Regions from separate parts of the Homo sapiens genome. Here all the other regions are linked to region 3. Evidence: promoter capture Hi-C in 16 types of primary human blood cells and fetal thymus (Javierre and others, 2016). All regions are on one chromosome and are shown on one strand. Each heading gives the region's core, a stretch centred on a gene start or on the middle of the fragment in contact. The rest is flanking DNA. Distances are from core to core; before and after follow the strand shown.

Region 1 (3,464 bases), core at 604-3,103, 570 kb before region 3:
AATAGTAATAAAGTTTAATCAAAGTGTGTTGTTATAGACTGCTATTTCATAAAATTAGTGGTACTTTAGTACACTTTAGTACATAGGGATAATTTCTCATCTCCTTACAGTAGGAAGTTTATAAAACAAACAGGCATACATTACATATTTGTTGATAAATTTATAGAAGATTGTATTTGTCAGTTTTCACACTCCTATAAAGAACTACCTGAGACTGGGAGATTTACAAAGAAAAGAGGTCTAACTGATTCACAGTTCACATGACTGGAGAGGCCTCAGAAAACTTACACACATGGCGGAAGGGAAAGCAAGGCACATCTTACATGGTGACAGGGTAGAGAGAGAGAGAGAAACTACCACACACTTTTAAACCACCAGATCCTGTGAGAACTCACTCACTATCAGGAGACCAGCAAGGGGGATGTCCACCCCCATGATTCAATCACCTCCCACCAGGCCTCTCCCCTGACAGGGGAGAATTACAATTGGAAATGATATTTCAGTGGAGACACAGAGCCAAAGCATATCAAAGGTGTTATTTTGTTTTTGTTTTGTTTCATTTGACATAATGTGGAGAAAACAATTTTGAAATCCTTAGGCACCAATTCTTAACAAGATACTAATTCTATCAATCCAGGGTTTTCCAAAGAGACAGAATCAATAGGATACATATATATACAGAGAGAGATATTATTAATAGATATAGGTATAGACATAGATACATGAGGGGGATTTTATTAAAGGAATTAGCTCTCGTGCAATTATGGGGATTGAGAAGTCCCATGACAAGCCCTGGGACGGAGACCCTGGGATGCTAGTAGCATGGCTCAGTCCAAGTCTGAAGGCCTCAGAACTAAGGAACCTCATGGTGAGCTCTCTGTTTAAGACTGAAAGCCTGAGAATCTGGAGATGGCAGGGGGCGTGGATATTGGTGTAAGTCCTAGAATCCCACGGCTGGTGAACCTAAAGTTTTGATGTCCAAGACAGGAGAAGAAGAGTATATCTCAGCTCTTTGAAAGAGAGACCTAATTGCCTTTTCTGGTTTTGTTCTAGCCAAGCCCCCAGCTGACTGAATAGTGTCTGCCCACATTGACAGCAGATCTTTGCCACTTAATCCACTCAGATTAACATGCTAATTTCTTCTGGAAATACCTTCTCTCTAGGAATTATCTAATCCAGTCAAGTTGACACCTAAAATTAACTATCACAAGAATATTTGCCTGTCACTACTAAATTCTATACTATACCACTACTAGTTCTACTATTAATTTTATGTCAACTTAGTGCAAAGTTAAGCTTAGATTTTAGTTGTTTGACAAATATAATTGATATACTAAAATAGCTTACAAACTTCAAGCAAGGAAAACGTGTTTAGGTCCTAATATGTCCAGTTTCAGTGTCAGACTGAACTGGGCTTAAAATCCAAATCTACCATGTCATAGTCATATGATGTTGTAGAGATACAGCTAGTTGACATTGGAATCCCACCTAGAATCTAAGGATTCCTGTTCAGGTCAGTACTTCATGAAAGGTTAAAAAATAGTACTTGCAGACTGAGAGATCTTACATTTCTACCTCAAAAGCTGGTAGTAAAAATAAATGAAAATAAATGACTCTTGTGAAATGATTTGTGTAATAATACCATTACCACAAATAGGCTGACTACAATGATTAAATTCGGCTATTATGAAATATCATATTTGCATATTCTATATCCTTCTAGATCTAAATTCTTACGAAGTCACTTCTAAAAATGTTATTTTTCAAAGTGGCCACATGGTGGCAGACTTCAACCAAACAAGGACAGTGTTTCTTAAAAACCCTTCATCATTTTATTTTAAGCGATTTGTAAAAGCCAAAAGTTTACAAAATTAAATCCAGGACAGGCACTATATTTTACACCTTTATAGTCTCAAAACGTAAACTTAGAATTTTATGTACTAAGACAGAGTTCTATTTTGACATCAATGAAGAGCTCTTTCTATGCCTCAAAGATTGCTCTATAGGGTGGAAGAGGGCACAACTTTCTTCCCACTGGATAGCCTTTCTCTTCTGAACCTCTTCTTTTTGACCAAGTGAAAAAAAGTTCTGAGTAATTGGAAAAATCTATTAAGAACATGAGTATCGTGGTCCCACTGGTAAAAGTTTGTAGCTTCTTTGTTGGCTTCACTACTTACTTTCTTGAATGACTTGGGCAATTTCTTAATGCTCCTTGCCTCTATTTTCTTTTCTGTAAGGTGCGAATAATAAAACCAGTTCCTCCAGAGGTTTCCTGTGAGAACTGAATATGCCTGCAGAGCACGTGGAACAGGACTTGCACATAAGAAACATGCAACACGCACTGTTGTTATGATTACTATCCTGTATCATTAACAAAAGAAATGTAAACAATGAAGGGTTATTAAGCTTATCCTTTATATTTGAAAACTGGGGAAAAAATAATCACAGAGTAAATCTAATTTGCAAAATTTTGGGAATAGTGCAGTATACCTGGAAACTGTAAACCAGCACATATTCCTTTCCCTTCCCAGGTGTCCTTCCATCCTTCTTTTGTTTGTTTATACACCTTCCCCAGGGAAATCCCCATGAACACACACACTCATATGCACACACTCACAGCAGCTGAAAGAAGAGTAATCTAGGTAATACTACATCTGGAAACAACAAGGAATGAACATGGCACAGTGAGAATTCTTCAAAGAGAGTTGTAGCATAGAGATAGTCATGTGTCCAGGATAAAAATAAAAAAAATGGTTGAAAAAATATCACTGTATCAAATTCTCACTATTCTCCACTTTCACACAATGCTCCCAGGGCAGAAAGAGAGATGCAGAGGAATATTTGCACATGGAACTAGTATTTAAAATTATTTTTCTCAAAATTGAATATAAGGGGTAAAAGATGATAGTTGTTGGGTTTAGAAGTTATGGAGGAAAGAGCCACAAAAAGAATGACCATTAAGGACCGGGCGCAGTGGCTCACGCCTGTAATAGCAACACTTTGGGAGGCCGAGGCGCGGGGATCACAAGGTCAGGAGATCGAGACCATCCTGGCTAACATGGTGAAACCCCATCTCTACTAAAAATACAAAAAATTAGCTGGGTGTAGTGGTGCATGCCTGTAGTCCCAGCTACTCGGTAGGCTGAGGCAGGAGAATCACTTGAACCTGGGAGACAGAGCTTGCAGTGAGCTGCGATAACGCCACTGCACTCCAGCCTGGGTGACAGAGACTCTGTCTCGAAAAAAAAAAAAAAAAGGAACGAGACTACCAGCTGAAATTACACATCTTCTTCAGCTTTTCTTATTGAACCAGACGACATGAATGAAAGTCAAGTAATTCAAATTAAAATGGTTACTCATTACTGAGAGAGTTGAACATAAATACATTTATTTCTTCCCTTCTTCATACATTTACTTATCCATTTATTCATACAAAAAACATCTGTAAGACTGTATTACATTTT
Region 2 (3,341 bases), core at 639-3,138, 530 kb before region 3:
TTTATTTTTCTTTGGATTGTCTGTCTCCATCCTGTTATTTTAGTTTTTGCATCACTAGGGGCCACTGTTGTCTTTTAAATATATTTCACAATTATGAACGTCTTTAAATACTATATCTGAGTAACTTCAAAATTGATCAATTTTAGAAATAGAAGGAGGTCATGTATTGTTTTTTAGGCAGTCTGCCTACTTGAAATGTTTTAAAATGATTTTTGAGTAATCTTAAAACAAAATGTGAAATTTTCTTTTAAAAATTGAGTCACTATATATACAAATGTAGATGTTATTCTACAAATTGATATTTATTTTACTCAAAGTCTCTGTTTATAGTTATAGAAAGATCACAAACCTACTTTCAGTGAAATGTCTTTGCAAAATAATGAATTATAAAATATGTTAATAGTAATCAAAGATAAGAAAGAATAATTAAAGCTATTGAGTGCCAAACATTGTTCCAAGAAAACTCCACTCACTATAGCATTTAATTCATATAACAACCCTATGAGTTATCTATCAATAATATTCTCAATGTATAGTTGGGGGCACAGAGGGCTTAAGTAAATGGCACAATTTACTTAACCATTTTAATGTACTTAACCAATTTAATGTAACCATTAGCATAATGTTACAACAGTTGACTAAAAAAAGTAGTAGATACAGGATATATGTGTATGTGTATGTACATATAAAAATATAGAGAATTATGTGTGTACACACATGCACACACACATTTTGATAGTGATGTCATTGTTTAGATCTACACAGCATCTGAGATTTTACCCTACTTGTAAGTTAGAAAATTAGCCTGGAACTGTTTTATATATGCTCATAAAAAAACACAAAAGTCCTGTAAAGGAGACAAAGGACTATATTACTCACAGCAAATGTAGTAGCCAGAGCTTCATATTTATACCAGTTTCCTCTGTCCTCCAGACCCACGGGTGTTTATACATGCAATGGATTGTACCGCAGCAGAGAAACATTGAGGTTGGGGAATGTATTGCTTTTATAGCAAGTGGGAACAAGCCTGCTTTCTGTCCAGGGGCAGATGCTACCTCTTCTCAAGGTTGGACACCATAATCACAACCTTGGAAGATGGCTCAAATAGCAGTCAGGACTTTGCATTTTTAGAATACCCAGCAAGAACATGCAGGAATGTTTAGGCTCCATGGCAGAGTGCCTGTTCAAACAGTCATCCATTGATTTTAATATGAAGTGGTTTTCATTTAATTTAATATTTTTATGGCTCACTCCTCAACCTCCAAAGGACAAGAAGAATGGATGACCGATGGCAATGCTGTAAAAGCAAGATAAAGAAAACTCTTCATATTTCCTCTGATTGCATTTCTTCTCATTTCTTGTAGGCAATATTGTTTGGCAGACTCAGCTTATTTTTGTTCTTGTTTTTCTAGATTGTTCCATTACATTTTCATTCATTTAATAAGCTTTTACCCAGTGCCCAATTTGTGAACAAATTTGGCTCACAACCTCATAATATAAATTTTATTCAATATAATTATTTTAGAATTTAATGGTCTTTTAAAATCTCTAATATATAAGAATGTTATATTTTGATTTTTAACTTTATATCTAATACCATGTGTCAAAAATAAATTGCATTTATAAACTCTATCCATGATTTTATATATGTTATAAGCTATACTGCCACTTAAATTGTTTCTTGTTTTAATTTGTGATATATCTTCTATTTTTCTCTTAGGTATTCCTTTGTTGAAAGCTAGTAGTAGTTTCTTAAAACTATTTTATTCACAATATTCATTTTTTTCAATAGAAGATGATTTAAAATTATTACTTATAATAATGGCATTCCAAAACAATGCTTTATTTACCTTACTATTTATCTTACAATCTTCTTTAGTATTTATAGCATCATCTTTTACCAGAAATTACAGATTTAGAAAGCTAACTTCACAACTGGATTTCTAAGTGTCTATAAAATCCAGAAGTCAATGAATATAACTTAAAAATAAATTTTAGTATGAGACGTGGGTCTTTATCACCGTAAAAGTATAAGAATTCATTTTCCATCACACTATGGATTCGAAATCCTTAAAGACTGGCACTACATTTTATTTCTTATGTTATTTTTTTCATGGAATACAGGAAATCACATGCATAATACATTTTATTAGGACAAAAAGTTTAAAAATAAACTTTAGAGAATGACTCTGATACTGGAATTGATAACTCTAAGTTATTGTCTGAATCCACACCAATTTATCATTTTTTTCTGGTGAGAGTATATCCTAGGATCTAATACCACATTTCAAATATTAGTTACATGACATTGGGCTGTTCGTGTCAAGCTTCTTGCCTTCATTCATTTTGAAAAAAAAAAGTTAAAAACTATTATTGAGAAGCTTCCCTGAAATTATAGGTAGAATTAACACATACTGGTAAACAGAATGTATATTTGATTATACAAATTTATCACTATATATTTGTACAGAGTTTCTACGTTTAGTAAAAATTCCAAAATTCTATTTTTTGAATTAAGAATTTCAACTTTTCAATTTAATTTTTTGGGAAACTGTAGACTTCTGTAATTGTCAGAAACTTTGAAGATTACACTTGTCTACCTCATTCAGAGAGGAAGATGTGTCTGAAAATACACTTCAGATGTGGCCATCATTCTTTTCATGAACATTGCCCATGTATTTATGCAAGTACATGGAGACAAATTTATTTTTCATGTAATAGGTACATAGGTATCTATTCATTCAAAAATGTTAAATTAACTTAAAGAAACATCATGCTATGAAGGAAAGAATATGGGTCTTAGAATTAGACGTGTTGTATCATTGGGTCTACTATATACTAACCACAAATATTTGTATTTATTCTTTCTGAATGCCAATTCCTTTAATTTTTTCTGATGTTAAAAATGTCAAGATGAAAGTGTGAGACAAATAATACTGTCTTAACAACATAAATTATTACATAGGTTAGACATCTAGAAGTCTACCTAGAAAAGTCAGTCAACATTGTCTACTCTTTTCGTGATTCTCCTTATATCAATTTTTACAATGCTTTTGTGGTTCAAAGTAATTATACAGCATTCACACACACTATCTTATGCACAGAAAGAATGTAGGCTTTTAAATAATAAAAAACAATTGCAACATTCTGACTTAAAGAAGACACTTTTCATATTTCACTTTAAGCTATTCCAACATATTTGTGCAGAGTTAATCTCTCTTTGTATTAGTAAATATAATTCAGAAGTATTTTACCAGACATTTCTTTCTTTTAAAGAAGTGTGGGTAAACTTCAGATCTATTGCTTTAGGGCAGCTCTTTTTCAATTGTTATTTAATGATG
Region 3 (3,499 bases), core at 1-2,500:
CCCTAATTCTGGAGAATTTATACTCTGCCTCTTTTGCTTGTGTTTTAGGAAAGAAGCCCAAAATTCAGGGTACATGAATTAAAATTAAATACTAAGATCAGTAAACCTCAATTGGCACGAATAAACAATATGAAAGAGTAAGCACAAACACGATCTATTTGTTTATCCATCTTTCTTATTGTGATAGCTATACTATGAAATTTCTAAAACTAGATGGGAGACTGGCTTAATATTTTGGCAAATAACCACATGCAAGTTAATGAGGAATGGGAAATAGAGCACTCTGGATTTTAGCATAAACAATTAAAATAAAAAATGCTACATTTCCTATTCCATCAGTTGACGGTATACTTATTTTCCCGGGAGAAATTTGGAATCTAAGCAACTCAGGTCCAGTAAGTGCAAACAACTGACATGCTTAGTCCAACAGGCCCCTGTGAGCAGGCCCTCTAGGGCATTTCCTGACGCCACATGACCAAGACCTTCCCCCCTAGTGGACGCTGCGGGTGATCAAGTGGCCCTGAGGAGCAGGGGCCTGAGACCCAGTCAAGCCTGCTGTCAACCTCCATCTGATGGAGGCCACGTCCTTTTCATGAGGCTGGTAGGAATGTCGCTGTATACCCCCACTATTTCTATTTTCGCAACATTCTTCCCAGTCTTTTCCTTCCTTCTCTTCGTCCCAGCCAAAGTAAAAGCATCCCTGGAATTTAATGGACTGAAAGGAGACCGGACGACTGAGGGGTAGAACGGGGCCCGAAGTGGCTTTGGAAGCAACGGGGTTAAGGGAGAGGCAAAAGGGTTGAGCAGAGAGAGGCAAGAGGCAATCTCCCCCTACCCAACTGCCCCTCCCAGGAGCAGATACGGCACCAACAGCCGGCGAGTCCCTCCGGCCTGGAAGACAAAGGAAGGATCAGGGCCCAGTGGTGACGGGGAGGGTGGGGGCAACGACTCGCGTGAGCTCGGAGACGTGAGAACGCAGCCCCCGCCCCGTTCTCCGCCTCCCCTGAGAAAGGCGGGGCCCCCACGCCGCCCCGAGACAGGTCTCCCCGCCGCGCCGGCAGCGGGTCCCAGGCGGCCGCACACGCCCAGGCACGGGATGCTGCGGGAGAGCGCGGTGGGGGAGGGGAAGGACGCGGAGGCGGAGCCGGCGGGCAAAGAAAGGCCGAGCGGCGGGGCGGGGGCGGGGGCGGGGGCGGGGTCTGGGCTGGGCGGGCGGGGCGGAGCCGGCCGGCCGGGGGCTGCCTGAGACAGTTACTGCCCTGACGGCGGCGGCGGCGGCGGTTGGCCGGTGGGGGCTGGGGCGAGCACGACCGATTCTGCTGGGAAAGCTGGAACTGGCAGCCGCCGGGGGCCAAGAGGAGGATCCGGAGCTGGGAGCGTGCCCCGGGCCCGGCGGAGGAGGCGGCTGCAGTTGGAGTGGAGTCTTGGGAGCGCTGCTGGCAGCGACTTCTCAGCGAAGCAAGTGTCTGAGACTGAGAGTCCCTAACAGCGGCAGCGGCGGCCACGGCGGCGGCTGGGGCCGAGGTAACCGGGGGGCGGCGGCGGCGGTGGAAGCGAGGCCCCTCCCTCGGGTTGGAAGCTGGGAGGCCGAGGCCGTGGCTTGGACCTGACCCAACCACCCACCCTCTCCGGCCTCGAGCCCCAGATTTGCCCTCTTCCCTCGCACCGCCGTCGGCCGGGTGGGAGCGGGAGCGGGGCATGGGGCGGGAGCGCAGAGGCGGAAGCCGACCGGGAGGCGACCCCTCGTCTGGGATTGGCAAGGACCTCAGTCACCCCCTCCCCCTTCAAAAGACACACCCCAATCTCGGTGCGGGGCGGGGTGCAGAGGCGCTCCCAGCCTCTGGAAGGGCAGACCTCGGTGTGGAGGCTGCACCTTCGCTCGTGGCCTCTCTGAGGTGGCTCCCCTGTGGCTCCTCTGGGCGGTTCCAACCCAAGGTGGTGCCCGGCGCTGGGAATCCCGGAGTTCCTTTTGTCTGTCAGCTGAAACTGGAGGCCGGACCTGTGGGCAGACACCCACCAGCACCGAAGCACTCTACTCTTTATCCCTTTCCTGTCTTGGAAGGAATTTCTCTCTAGCAGCCTTTTCTCCGGCCAGACTGGTAGATTTTATCCCTGACCTCCATCCTTGGCCCAGAGGAAGGAAGGATTCACATTTTACTTGTGTTTGCTTTATCATTCTTATAAGAACAGTCATCCCCCATCGTTTTTGTTTTTTTTTTTTAAACCGTTTCCCATCCAGCTGCAACCCTGGTAATCTTCCCCTAGATTTTTGCACATTATCAACAAAGAAGTGTGGCTGGAGGAGTAGACAGTCCTTGACTGACTGGACTGTGTAAGTTAATAGAGCTTCCTTAGCTGGCGCTGTTCTACCAGTCTACTGTGAATGAGCGTTTTGCCTGGAGTTAAGGGTGTTACTGTATGTGCGTAAAGTTTCTCCCCCCCTCCTTTGCTATGGTGAAGTTGCAAAAATCTTGGGTAACTTGATTAAAATGTGGCTGTTTGGGAAGCATAACAATGAGGAAGAAAAATGCAGAAGGGAGAATGTGATTATTTCAGTGGTTTTTGTCCAACTTTTTGAAAGTGCCAAAGGTGAAGTACGTGGATTTTTGAGATTACGTTAACTGGTACACTGCAACCTTTATTGTCCTTAATAAGTTTTTAACATATGATATTTTGCACTGAGGTATTTTTGTTTGTTTTATTTTAGTTACTTGTGGAAATTGTTGATTACCCGGACGTCTTAAAACCAAGAAACCTGTGAACAGGTTCATTAAGAATCTGCTGTCTTGAAAAATGCATATTATGAATGCTTTGAATTAAGAAGGTGTTAACAGTGGTTGTCATTTCTGCCACATAAGAGACTATAATCTGAAACAGTTCCTGGCAGTTGCCCAGATGCCTGAAACTGGCACGATCTAGTACTCTTGAGTGATCATCCTTCAACGAGAAATACAGAGCTACTTACATACTGTACCTCATACCGTATAAATGTAATCTCTCTGATGCCATTTAATGCAGTGGACCTCTTTTCAGAATCTAATTGTCAGATGCAGAATTAACACTTGGAATCTGGAGAAGCATTTTGTACAAATTGAAAGATTGGGTTTTTTCTTTAGTTTTCCACATGTATTGTCTCATCTCTGTTCTTGAAACATCCACAATCACATAAACTCCAGTTATAACCATGGAGTTATGTGACTCATTAAAATTTAGGAAAAGTGTTGCTGAGCTGTGGAATCAGGCGTTTCTCCCTCAGTTCAACAACTAATACATAGACTGCTGATCAAGAATAAGGAACCAAATAAAGTCATGCACGTTCTGTTGACAGAGGAACTCTGTGGCTGTTGAATTTTACTGTAACTAGTTACTCTGTCTTCAGAGTCAACTTAATATACAAGTTATGTCATAATGGATGGAAAGACCTGTGTTGATGTATCCAGACTCTAGCAAATGAAGATAAAAAACCCGTTATGACTAATCCTTGGGAAGAGAAAGTCTG

What was found. Contacts are between HindIII fragments. The CHiCAGO score rates a contact against its expected background, and 5 or more counts as called.
Region 1: a fragment that was not itself captured here is called in contact with the fragment with the promoter of ANKRD50 in region 3 in 3 of 17 cell types (endothelial precursors, M1 macrophages and megakaryocytes); the score reaches 11.2 in endothelial precursors.
Region 2: a fragment that was not itself captured here is called in contact with the fragment with the promoter of ANKRD50 in region 3 in 1 of 17 cell types (endothelial precursors); the score reaches 13.3 in endothelial precursors.

The regions. Positions count from the first base shown.
Region 1 is chr4:125,282,217-125,285,680 of GRCh38, reverse strand. No RefSeq gene overlaps it. Among named protein-coding and RNA genes, the nearest start is that of FAT4, 31 kb to the left of the region's middle. The HindIII fragment of the contact is 1,110 bases long and covers 1,299-2,408 here.
Region 2 is chr4:125,241,771-125,245,111 of GRCh38, reverse strand. No RefSeq gene overlaps it. Among named protein-coding and RNA genes, the nearest start is that of FAT4, 72 kb to the left of the region's middle. The HindIII fragment of the contact is 882 bases long and covers 1,448-2,329 here.
Region 3 is chr4:124,710,483-124,713,981 of GRCh38, reverse strand. ANKRD50 (ankyrin repeat domain containing 50) reads left to right here and starts at 1,250. Exons shown (of 5, transcript NM_020337.3): 1 at 1,250-1,524; 2 at 2,708-3,499. The coding sequence starts at 3,471. RefSeq lists enhancers at 711-1,276, 1,277-1,842 and silencers at 994-1,373, 1,524-1,763. The HindIII fragment of the contact is 8,904 bases long and covers 1-3,499 here.